3 separate regions of the Homo sapiens genome follow, and regions 1 and 3 are each linked to region 2. Evidence: promoter capture Hi-C in 16 types of primary human blood cells and fetal thymus (Javierre and others, 2016). All regions are on one chromosome and are shown on one strand. The core of a region is centred on a gene start or on the middle of the fragment in contact, and the rest is flanking DNA. Distances in the headings are between cores, read along the strand shown.

Region 1 (3,389 bases), core at 789-3,288, 2.8 Mb after region 2:
CCAAAAGAAACAAAATTGCCTTCCTCCCCTCTCCGAAATCTCATCTAGCTCAGAAAAGAAGACTGAGGAAGGCAACTACGCCTGGATGGATTTTTCACAAGATGATGCCTGTTTCTCGGGCTCATTCAAATTCTAAAGAGAATCATTTACAAGTTAATTTCTGTCCATTTTTTCGCCCTAAGAATCACTTGCTGCCCTCAGAAGAATTGTCTATATTCTCCATCTCTCCCCTTCCCCTATGAAAAAGAGTGTATACGCTTCTGTACCCCATTGGGTTATTGGGTAATCATTCTCCTGTGACCCTTCCCTTCCCACCCCCTCGCCTCCCCGCCCCGTGCTATGCACGTTAAAATAAAATTTTGTATGTCTTTTCTCCTATTAATCTGCCTTTTGTCAGTTGATTTTCAGTGAACCTTGGCCCCTACAATACTGTTCCCTTTTCTCCATCTTCACTGCCAGAGCTTAGCTTTGAGCTGTTTGAGATAATAGAGGAAGGGTGTCTAATGTGATAAGCAGTCTATGTATGAGGCTTCCTCTGGAGGTGACCCTTAAGCTTGAAAATTGTGCCAGAGCACAATCTGGCATAGTAAAGAAAGGTGGGAAGGGCACTACATGGCCAGGCACGGTGGCTCATGCCTGTAATCCCAGCACTTTGGGAGGCTGAGGCGGGCGGATTGCTTGAGCTCAGGAGTTCGAGACCAGCCCTAGCAACATGGTGAAACCCAGTCTCTACAAAAAGTACAAAAATTAGCCAGGCCTGGTGGTGTGCATCTGTGGTCCCAGCTACTCGGAAGGCTGAAGTGGGAGGATCACTTGAGCCCAGGAGGTTGAGGCTGCAGTGAGCTATGATTGTGCCACTGCACTCTAGCCTGGGCAACAGAGCGAGAGTCCTGTTAAAAAAAAAAAAAAAAGCGGCCAGGCGCAGTGGCTCACGCCTGTAATCCCAGCACTTTGGGAGGCCGATGCGGGCAGATCACCTGAGGTCGGGAGTTCGAGACCAGCTTCCCCAACATGGAGAAACCCCTTCTCTATTAAAAATACAAAATTAGCCGGGCGTGGTGGTGCATGCCTGTGATCCCAGCTACTCAGGAGGCTGAGGCAGGGGAATCACTTGAACCTGGGAGGCGGAGGTTGCGGTGAGCCGAGATCACGCCATTGCACTCCAGCCCAGGCAACAAGAGTGAAATTGAACAACAACAACAAAAAAGGTGGGAAGGTAGATGAAAAAGCATCAATAAGGCACTGAGGTGTGAAACAGTGTGGTCTGCCGGGTTTAGTATGTGCGAGCAAAATAAATATGCAGGCTGAGATTAGTGGGATGAGGGTGGGAAGGGCCTTGTGGGAGCATTAACAAGCTTGAGCTTTGGGACTTTTCTGTATATGATAAAATTGATGTCTGTATAGGGTACAGTGGGGACACAGAGGAGGAAGTGAATACTTGTACCCAAGAGGTCATGTAAGACTTAGGTTTTACTATATTTGAATTATTTTTACACTAACAATAGCCACATTTATTTCCCTGCTGGCTGTGTGCCTGCCACAGTACTTTACAAATATTATCTCTTCCAACCCTCACACCATCCTTGCGAAATGGGTGTTATTACCTCTACACAGAAGGGGAAGGGAGGCTCAGACAGGTTAATAATGTTCCCAAGGTCACTAGAAAGCTAGCCCGGATCCCAAGAGGTCTTAAAGCACTAAAATATACTCTTCTAAGAAGAGCTTCTTGAGGTCAGGGATCATGTCTTTTGTTTTTGCGTGCCCAGACCTAGGTCTTAGAAGACGCCTAATAAACATCAGTTGAAAAAAATGACTGGATGATCTTTCACTTTTTCCACGCAGAAAACACGTGGCGACATCACTGAGAAACCTCCCGGCCAACAGAGGGCGCGACGTCCATTTCAGCGCAGTGGGGCCCAGTTGCGGACGCCTAGCTTCCTTCCGTCCTTTGGCTGAAGTTCAGCCAATCCCTGCGCTCCGAGAGAGCCGGCGGCCAGTGGGCAGGGTCACAGGGCAAGGTCCCGCGGGCCGCTGGGTGCGGCGACTTCCGTGCTCCCGGCGAGCGGGCGGAGAGCGGGGGCCGCACTGGGGAGTGTGGGCTGGGCCGCAGGTGAGCGCGCGGTCCCGGCGAGCAGGTCGGGTCAGCCCAGGCCAGTAACCTCTGAGTTACGGGAGGAGTGATCGCTAGGGTCCACCCCGGTCCCGGCCAGATCTGCCAGCTCCCCTCTCTGGCGGGTGTTCTGGTGCCAAGTCTGGGAGCCCAGGTAGCCCTCCGCAGACAGGGCTTCTCGGCACCTCAATGAGGACGGACGTTGATGAGGCCATGAATGAGGTGGGCTAGGGACAGGGGACCGGGAGACTCACAGAAGGGAGAAGGGTAGCCATTTGGATGGACCTTCGCCTTACTTGCGCTCCCATTCCTGGACTGCGCTCTAGTGACTGTCAGGGCTAATTCTTCCGCCTTCTCAGGCCTCCTGTGTCCTTGTTAGTAGTTCTTGAATTTGGGACTACGGCTTCTGGCCTCGTTGGGCCTCCGGGCCCTCGCACTGGGGCAGGTTTCCCAGCAGCCCAGTTGACCTTTACCGGATGCTTTTGGCAGACGTCCTCCATGCCGGGCTGGAAATATGCGTCACAGTGTTTTTCAGACACTTTTGCCTCTTTCATTGTGATACCCTGCCTGGGGACGACTATGATGGAGTCTTTAGGTTTTTGTAATCAGCAAAGGCATCTGTTATGCTCCTGCCACCTTTTGGGGGAGAGTGGGTGGAGGATGTTGTGATTTTACACTAGGGAGTTTGGGCTGTCATTCATTCGTTCAGCAGACCTTTTTTGGGCACTCTGCCAGGCAGGGTAGGAGAGGTGCCTGGATGGATAGGGCATAATTGGGCCAGACAGACACGGTTCTTAGCCTTTTGGAGCTTAAAGTGTCTTGAGAAACGCAGACAGGGTAAGCCAGCATCGTGCCTGACACAGAGTAAGTGGTTATAAGTGTCGAATAAAGGAATGAATTGACTTATTTGGGAATGATTAGAATGTGAGCAGGACGGTAGCGAGAGACTTTATGCTGCATGTGAGAGATAGTTGTGAACTCATGCGCGATATGTTTTAAGACAGGTTTGGAAATCTGAACGGACAGTTGCTATTTAGGGAAGCATTTACTTATACAGAGGACTTGCTTTAAAGGTGGAAGTAAAATGGAGAAGTATTAGGTTTGGGATTCTTCAGAGGTGCCTCTTTTAACTATTACTATGTCTCTGAATTTCATAAATCCCTGAGTACAATCTCAGAGTTTGGGAAAAGGAAAGCTCTTCTAGGTAATGAAATGCCAGGCTGATGGGAAAAAACTGTAGGAAGCTCTCCCTAAGTCCAGGGTTTGGACAGAAACCGTA
Region 2 (3,365 bases), core at 707-3,206:
AGAGACAATGTCTGTTTTATTCCCTAGTGCATCTTTAGCACCTAGCACTGTGACTGACACATGCTCAGTATTTGGAGAAATAAGCAAATGAATGGCTTAATAAATAAAAGGGCAAGTCAAAAGGATCATTCAATGTCTAATATGTGAGCAGACCATGCATTTCTATCCAGGAAGGAGACTACATGCTGGATAGTTAATAATAAGGAAAACAGAAAAGGGCAACCCAGCAGAAAAGTACAGCCTCCTGCATTTCTCCGGACATTTAATAAGGGAGTGCAGAAACAGGCTGGGATTTTTCTCTGGCCAGGAAAACTGATGTGTCTTTTTTTTTGAGACGGAGTTTCACTCTTGTTGCCCAGGCTGGAGTGCAATGGCGTGCTCTCAGCTCACCGCAACCTCTGCCTCCCAGGTTCAAGCGATTGTCCTGCCTCAGCCTCCAGAGTAGCTGGGATTAGAGGTATGCGCCACCACGCCCGGCTAACTTTTTTGTATTTTTAGTAGAGACAGGGTTTCTCCATGTTGGTCAGGCTGGTCTCGAACTCCTGACCTCAGGTCATCTGCCCGCCTCAGCCTCCCAAAGTGCTGGGATTACAGGCGTGAGCCACCACGCCCAGCCTGATGCGCCCATTTTTAGGTTAGCAATTTCCATAAGCTGCAGAAGGAGCTGCTTCGGGTTATTCTTCTATCTGAGCTCTGGTTAACTAACCATGTCATTTATTCATTCATTTTTAAATGGGTAAAATATACATATATTTTTAAAAATACTATTTTCTGGCCGGGCGCAGTGGCTGACTCCTGTAATCCCAGCACTTTGGGAGGCCTATGTAGGTGGATCACTTGAGGTCAGGAGTTCGAGACCAGCCTGGCCAACATGGTGAAACCCCGTCTCTACTGAAAATACAAAAATCAGCGGGGCATGGTGGCAGGCGACCGTAATCCCAGCCACTCCAGAGGCTGAGGCAGGAGAATCACTTGAACCCAGAAGGTGGAGGTTGCAGTGAGCAGGGATCGCACCACTGCACTGCACTGCACTCCAGCCTGGGTGACAGAGTGAGACTCTGTTTAAAAAAAATTAAATAAATTTCCTGATGTGTGAAAATTATGTGAAATTCACATTTCAGTGTATCCATAACTAAAATTTTATTGGAATACAGCCCATCCATGCCCATTCACTACAGCTGTTTTGGACCTGTAAACAGCAGAGCTGAGTTGTCCGACAGAGACCGCCCCGCCCGCCGCCCCCCAACCACCCCCCCATTTTTCATAGAGAAAAATGAAGTAGGGAAGTGAGACAGAGAGTGAAAGGGTCTGCAATTTTCCATAAGTGGTCATGTCAGATCTCATTAAAAGGTGACATCTGAGCGAGCCCTTTCTGAAGGGTGTCACCTAACCCCAAGGGGCTCCTGGCCTCCGCCCAGGGAAGCTCTCCAGCTCTTACCGAAGTAGTCAAGCCAGTTCATCTCGCGCAGAGCCTTGGGGAGCCGCAGGATCTCGATGTTGTAGAGGTTATCCACCTCCTTGAGGAGGTTCTGCCTGTCTGACTCAATTTGCTTGATTCGTATTTCCACTGCGGGAGGGCAGAGCCGACAGGACACGGGTCACGGGCGGGCGAATCTGTGCAGCTCGTGTCCCCACCCGCCAGCATCCCGCGACCGCCCCAGGAGGCCGCGACGGCCTGGCCCCTTACCTTCACGGTCGAAGTCTTTCAGAAAGGAGGCGAGCTTCCGCCTCCGTAAGGAGTTGGTCTTGGCCACCCGACTACTGCCCTTCCTAGGAGCCATGGCGCTCGGCGGAGGCTGCGGGGAGCGGCGGAGATGGGGCAGGGAAGCAAGAAACTGGGTAGGGACGAGGAGGGCGGACGGGGACCACCCGAAGAAGTCGCCAGGCACGTACCTGCGGTCCCGAGACAAGGGCTGAGCAAAACCTCGCTGTGCCAGTGAGAGAGAGCGGCTCTACAGTCAACCGCCACCCAATTCAAACTCCACAGTCACAGGCTGACGAATGAGAAGCCGCCGTCCCACAACATCCAATCACAAGCAAGTTCCTGCCGGCCCAGGGTCTTCCGCCCAATGCGCCCCCTATAGCCTGAGTGCGACAGCGAGGCCGCCGCCGTCGCGGGTACTCCTGGGAGTTGTGGTCCAGGCTTGTTTCCCCGCCCTCCCCACCAACCCACCCGGCTCCGCCCTGGCCGGCTGCGAACTATACAAACTACTACTCCCGGCAGGCCTTGTGGCGGCTCTGCAATACCCCAAGCTCTGGAGGGCTGGGGGCCTACTAGGTCAGGTCGGCTGTAGGATTCTGCTCCAGGGTTGGCGGCTGCTTCTTTCTGGCCTGGCTGCCACTGAGTAGCCGAGGGGCCGCCGTGACCCTCTGACTGATTGACTGGCTGGCTGCCTACGTCGGCGCTCCTCAGGGCCCCAAGCTCCTCAGGCCGAACTTCGGGCAAGTGGCGGGTCGGCAGAGACAGAGCAGCCCCGGCAGGGTTTGACAGAGCAAGGGGGACGGAATGATAGAGGAGCAGGGCAGGGGTGCAGGCTTTGGGGGGGGCGCGCTATCCCGCGGCCAGTCTGGGCAGCGAGTGGGGGGAACCCTGTCGTTCCTCGCTCCCCCGCGGGCCGGCCACTCCCGCCCAGTTCGCGTGTTGGCGCCTCGACTGGGTGCGCAGCGCGGGGCTGCGACTTCAGGTGCAAGTAGTGGCGCTTGGCAGCTGGCCACACGGTGACTGCAGCATGAGCCGCGGCCACCAGGCTCCAGGGAGCCCAGGGCAGGAGGCAGCTCTGGGTGTCGTGGCCGTGGGCCTGGGAATGGGCGTGTAGACGGCGAGCCCCGCCGAGCCGCGGTCCTGTCGGAGGTGCTAACTGTGCATCTTGGTATCTGCCCACGGCCACAGGGTTGGATTGCTCAAGAGTTGTGCTGAGACCCAGAAGGCTAGAGGCTAGTTTCGAAGCTGTAGCTCAGGCTGAGTCTCAAGGCGGGCGGCGACTGGACGGCCAGACCGGCGAGCTCTTGACGGGTTTGTGGCCTGATTGTTTGGATTTGGTGCTTTTCACCTGTGGATGCGGTCTGAAGCCATGTCAGAGGGGTTGTGTTTAAGCGTGCATGTTATAGGCTATGGGAGTGATAATCTTGCCTCTCCCCCTCTGAGTTGAGGAACAATCGAAGAAATAAGCAAAGGTGCCAAGCAGGCTCCTGATGGGCACCAGCGAGCTTGGGGACAGAGCAGTCCAAGCATAGAAGTCCTGGCAAGCCTGGACCTTCCTGGAAAGTCCTTTCTCTCTCTTCCACCCTGGTCTGTTGCTCCATATGCAACAAATATTTGAATGTCGCTCTTCCGCCCGAGGTCAGCCCTGGGCAGTGGGTAGTGG
Region 3 (3,068 bases), core at 446-2,945, 2.1 Mb after region 2:
CATCATGTTGGCCAGGCTGGTCTCGAACTCCTGAACTCGTGATCCGCTCGTCTTGGCCTCCCAAAGTGCTAGGATTACTGGCGTGAGCCACTGCCCCTGGCAACACTGAGTATCTCGGTACACAAATATTTGGACTGTGTGTCCAAACATTTCTTTTGGACATATTCAAAAGGTTATGCATATTTAACAGATATTAAAATTGTTCTCTATAAAAAGGTTGTACAACTTAGAACCTTACCCCCAATTTATACTTTCTCATTGTTTCTTATTTCCCATTTTCCTAATTACCATCAAGGTTGAGGATCTTTTCATGTTTATTGGCCATTCGTGTTGCTTCTTTTGTGAATTGTTTTTCTTAGTCTTTGGTCTTTTTTTATTTTTTATTTTTTTTTTTGAGATGGAGTCTCTCTGTTGCACAGGCTGGAGTGGAGGGGCGCTATCTCGGCTCACTGCAATCTCCGCCTCCTAGGTTCAAGCAATTCTCCTGCTTCAGCCTCCGGAGTAGTACAGGCGCCTGCCACCACGCCCAACTAATTTTTTGTATTTTTAGTAGGGACGGGGTTTCACCATATTGGCCAGGCTGTTCTCGAACTCCCGACCTCTTGATCCGCCCCCGTGCCCTGCCGGGTCTTTTAAAAATGGTATTGTCTCACCCGGCTCCCCTCCCATTGGTTTGTAGGAATATCTTTTAAGTTATAGATATTAACTTTTTCCTTTCTTCTGTCTATAAGGTCCAAAATAGTAACTATTTCTACAATTGAAACATTCCCAATTTACATTTACTGTTGAGCATGATAATGACTTTCACCACATAGAGACGTGTAATTTTAGGTAGTCAAATCTGTCAAGTCTTTTCTCATATTGCTTCTGGGTTCCCTGTCAAGCTTAGAAACACATCTCTTCCAAAAATTACAGAAATATTTTTCTACTTTTTCTTCCATGTTTGTATCTCTCTCCCTCTCTTTTTTTTTTTTTTTTTTTTTTTTTTTTTTTTTTTTTTTTTTTTGAGACGGAGTTTCGCTTTTGTTGCCCAGGCTGGAGTGCTCACCGCAACCTCCGCCTCCAGGGATCAAGCGATTCTCTGTCTCAGCCTCCAGAGTAGCTGGGATTACAGGCATGCGCCACCACGCCCAGCTAATTTTGTATTTTTAGTAGAGACGGGGTTTCTCCATATTGGTCAGGCTGGTCTCGAACTCCCAAGCTCAGGTGATCCGCCTGCCTTGGCCTCCCAAAGTGCTGGGATTACAGGCGTGAGCCACTGCGCCCGGCCATGCTTATATCTTTAATCCAACCATATACTATTTTTGTGAAGGATGGAAGTAAGGCTCCCCTCAAGTTAATTTTTCTCCAATCTGGCTTGCAGGAAAGGGGTTTCTGGGGAGATTTTACCGAGCAACGTAGGGAAACGGCTGCCTGGCTACCTACCCCTTTTTGACACCCACACGTGCTCGGCACCTTACATACACTGCGTGATTTTATCCTAAAGCCACTTTTAAAATCTTAGTGTGTAAACAGAGAAACTGGGCGTCACATAAGGCAAGTGACCTGCACAGCCTGCTCCGGAGGAGACCCGTACGATCCCAGAGACAAGCACTGAACATAAGGCACCCGGCGCCGCGCCCGCTTTGCAACCTCTCGCGACAGTTGTACGTCATCCGAGAGCGCCGTGGAAGTCGTGCTGCAGGCGTCGCGCCAATCTTCGCTCTGAGGTGCTGTCTCACCGGTGAGACCTGGAAGCGGGCGAGTCTCGTGCTGTGTCGGACCTGCAGCCCCTGGCCTTCCGCCACCATGGAGTACCTCATCGGTATCCAAGGCCCCGACTATGTTCTTGTCGCCTCCGACCGGGTGGCCGCCAGCAATATTGTCCAGATGAAGGACGGTGAGAGGAAGCAGGGGAGGCCCGGCCAGGCCTGGGGTGTAGGAGCGGCCAGAAGGAGTTTGTCGGGGGTTGAATAAGTACCAGGGAGGATCTGAGAGATGGAAGCCGGCCTGCCCTGCCCGTACTTATTTTATTTATTTATTTATTTTTTCGAGAGGGGTTTCGCTCTTGTTGTCCAGGCCGGAGTGCAATGGCGCGATCTCGGCTTAGCACAGTCTTTGTCTCCCGGGTTCAAGCGATTCTCGTGCCTCAGCCTCCCGAGTAGCTGGGAACAGATATGCGCCACCACGCCTGGCTAATTTTTGTATTATTAGTAGAGATGTGGATTTCTCCATATTGGTCAGGCTGGTCTCGAACTCCCGACCTCAGGAGATCCGCCCGTCTCGGCCTTCCAAAGTGCTGGGATTACAGGCGAAACAGGCAGACAGGTCTGGGACCTTGGCATTTGCTCCTCCAGGGCTCCTGGGTCAGTGCTCTGCTCTGGCCTTCGCTAAATGCTTCTTGCTTGGTGAGAGTTGCCTAAAGGGAATCAGTTTATAAATGTTTAAGCGCCTGCCCAGAGCCTGGCTCTCTAGATCCCCGAATCTCTGATAAGTTTCCTGGTGTCGCTAGTAATGAGGTTAGTTTGTTGGCGGCATAAGGTGGGATCCTGAGGAGAGTGAGACTGTGGGACTGGCTCTCTAGATCCCCGAATCTCTGATAAGTTTCCTGGTGTCGCTAGTAATGAGGTTAGTTTGTTGGCGGCATAAGGTGGGATCCTGGGGAGAGTGAGACTGTGGGACCAGAAGCTTGGCATTTTCCTTCTTCCCGTGGCTCCCGATTCTTCTTTTCCAGTTTTCCAGAGCAATGGCTGCCAGGTTTTCCTTATATTTAAGTAGTTAATGGAGTTAAGAGATTGGAGCCCTGTCATTTATTTGCCTTATGAGTTTGTATAAGTTATTTTGCAGTGCCCAGATTTCCTCATCTTTAAGATTAGCAATACCAAACTCACAAACTTGTCGGGAGGATTTAGTAAATGAGTTATGTGCAAATCCTTAGCACTAGGCAGGTACTTAATAATACTAAGTGTACGTAGGTGCCCAAACATATTTGTCAAATGACCATTAAGTCATCTGAACCAAAGCTTAATACTTTTTCAACAGTAGCACGTCTTTGATCAGTTAAGGAAAACAAACTTAGATTCTGCAGA

What was found. The method cuts DNA at HindIII sites, captures the fragments that hold promoters and counts their contacts. A CHiCAGO score of 5 or more calls a contact.
Region 1: the fragment with the promoter of SMIM12 here is called in contact with the fragment with the promoter of CDCA8 in region 2 in 6 of 17 cell types (naive CD4 T cells, total CD4 T cells, activated CD4 T cells and 3 more); the score reaches 8.9 in naive CD4 T cells.
Region 3: the fragment with the promoter of PSMB2 here is called in contact with the fragment with the promoter of CDCA8 in region 2 in 4 of 17 cell types (naive CD4 T cells, naive CD8 T cells, fetal thymus and 1 more); the score reaches 9.0 in naive CD4 T cells.

What each region holds. Positions count from the first base shown.
Region 1 is chr1:34,858,398-34,861,786 of GRCh38, reverse strand. It overlaps SMIM12 (small integral membrane protein 12), which reads left to right and starts at 2,038. Exons shown (of 2, transcript NM_138428.6): 1 at 2,038-2,110. RefSeq lists a silencer at 2,087-2,216. The HindIII fragment of the contact is 6,874 bases long and covers 1,358-3,389 here.
Region 2 is chr1:37,691,107-37,694,471 of GRCh38, reverse strand. CDCA8 (cell division cycle associated 8) reads right to left here and starts at 1,956. Exons shown (of 10, transcript NM_001256875.2): 1 at 1,688-1,956; 2 at 1,439-1,567. The coding sequence starts at 1,781. It also overlaps a transcript of AIRIM not described here. RefSeq lists enhancers at 1,175-1,683, 1,684-2,194, 2,233-2,422, 2,195-2,704, 2,705-3,215 and silencers at 2,653-2,822, 2,843-2,902. The HindIII fragment of the contact is 4,527 bases long and covers 1-3,365 here.
Region 3 is chr1:35,640,153-35,643,220 of GRCh38, reverse strand. PSMB2 (proteasome 20S subunit beta 2) reads left to right here and starts at 1,695. Exons shown (of 6, transcript NM_002794.5): 1 at 1,695-1,879. The coding sequence starts at 1,789. RefSeq lists enhancers at 790-1,754, 1,507-1,966, 1,755-2,720. The HindIII fragment of the contact is 1,783 bases long and covers 887-2,669 here.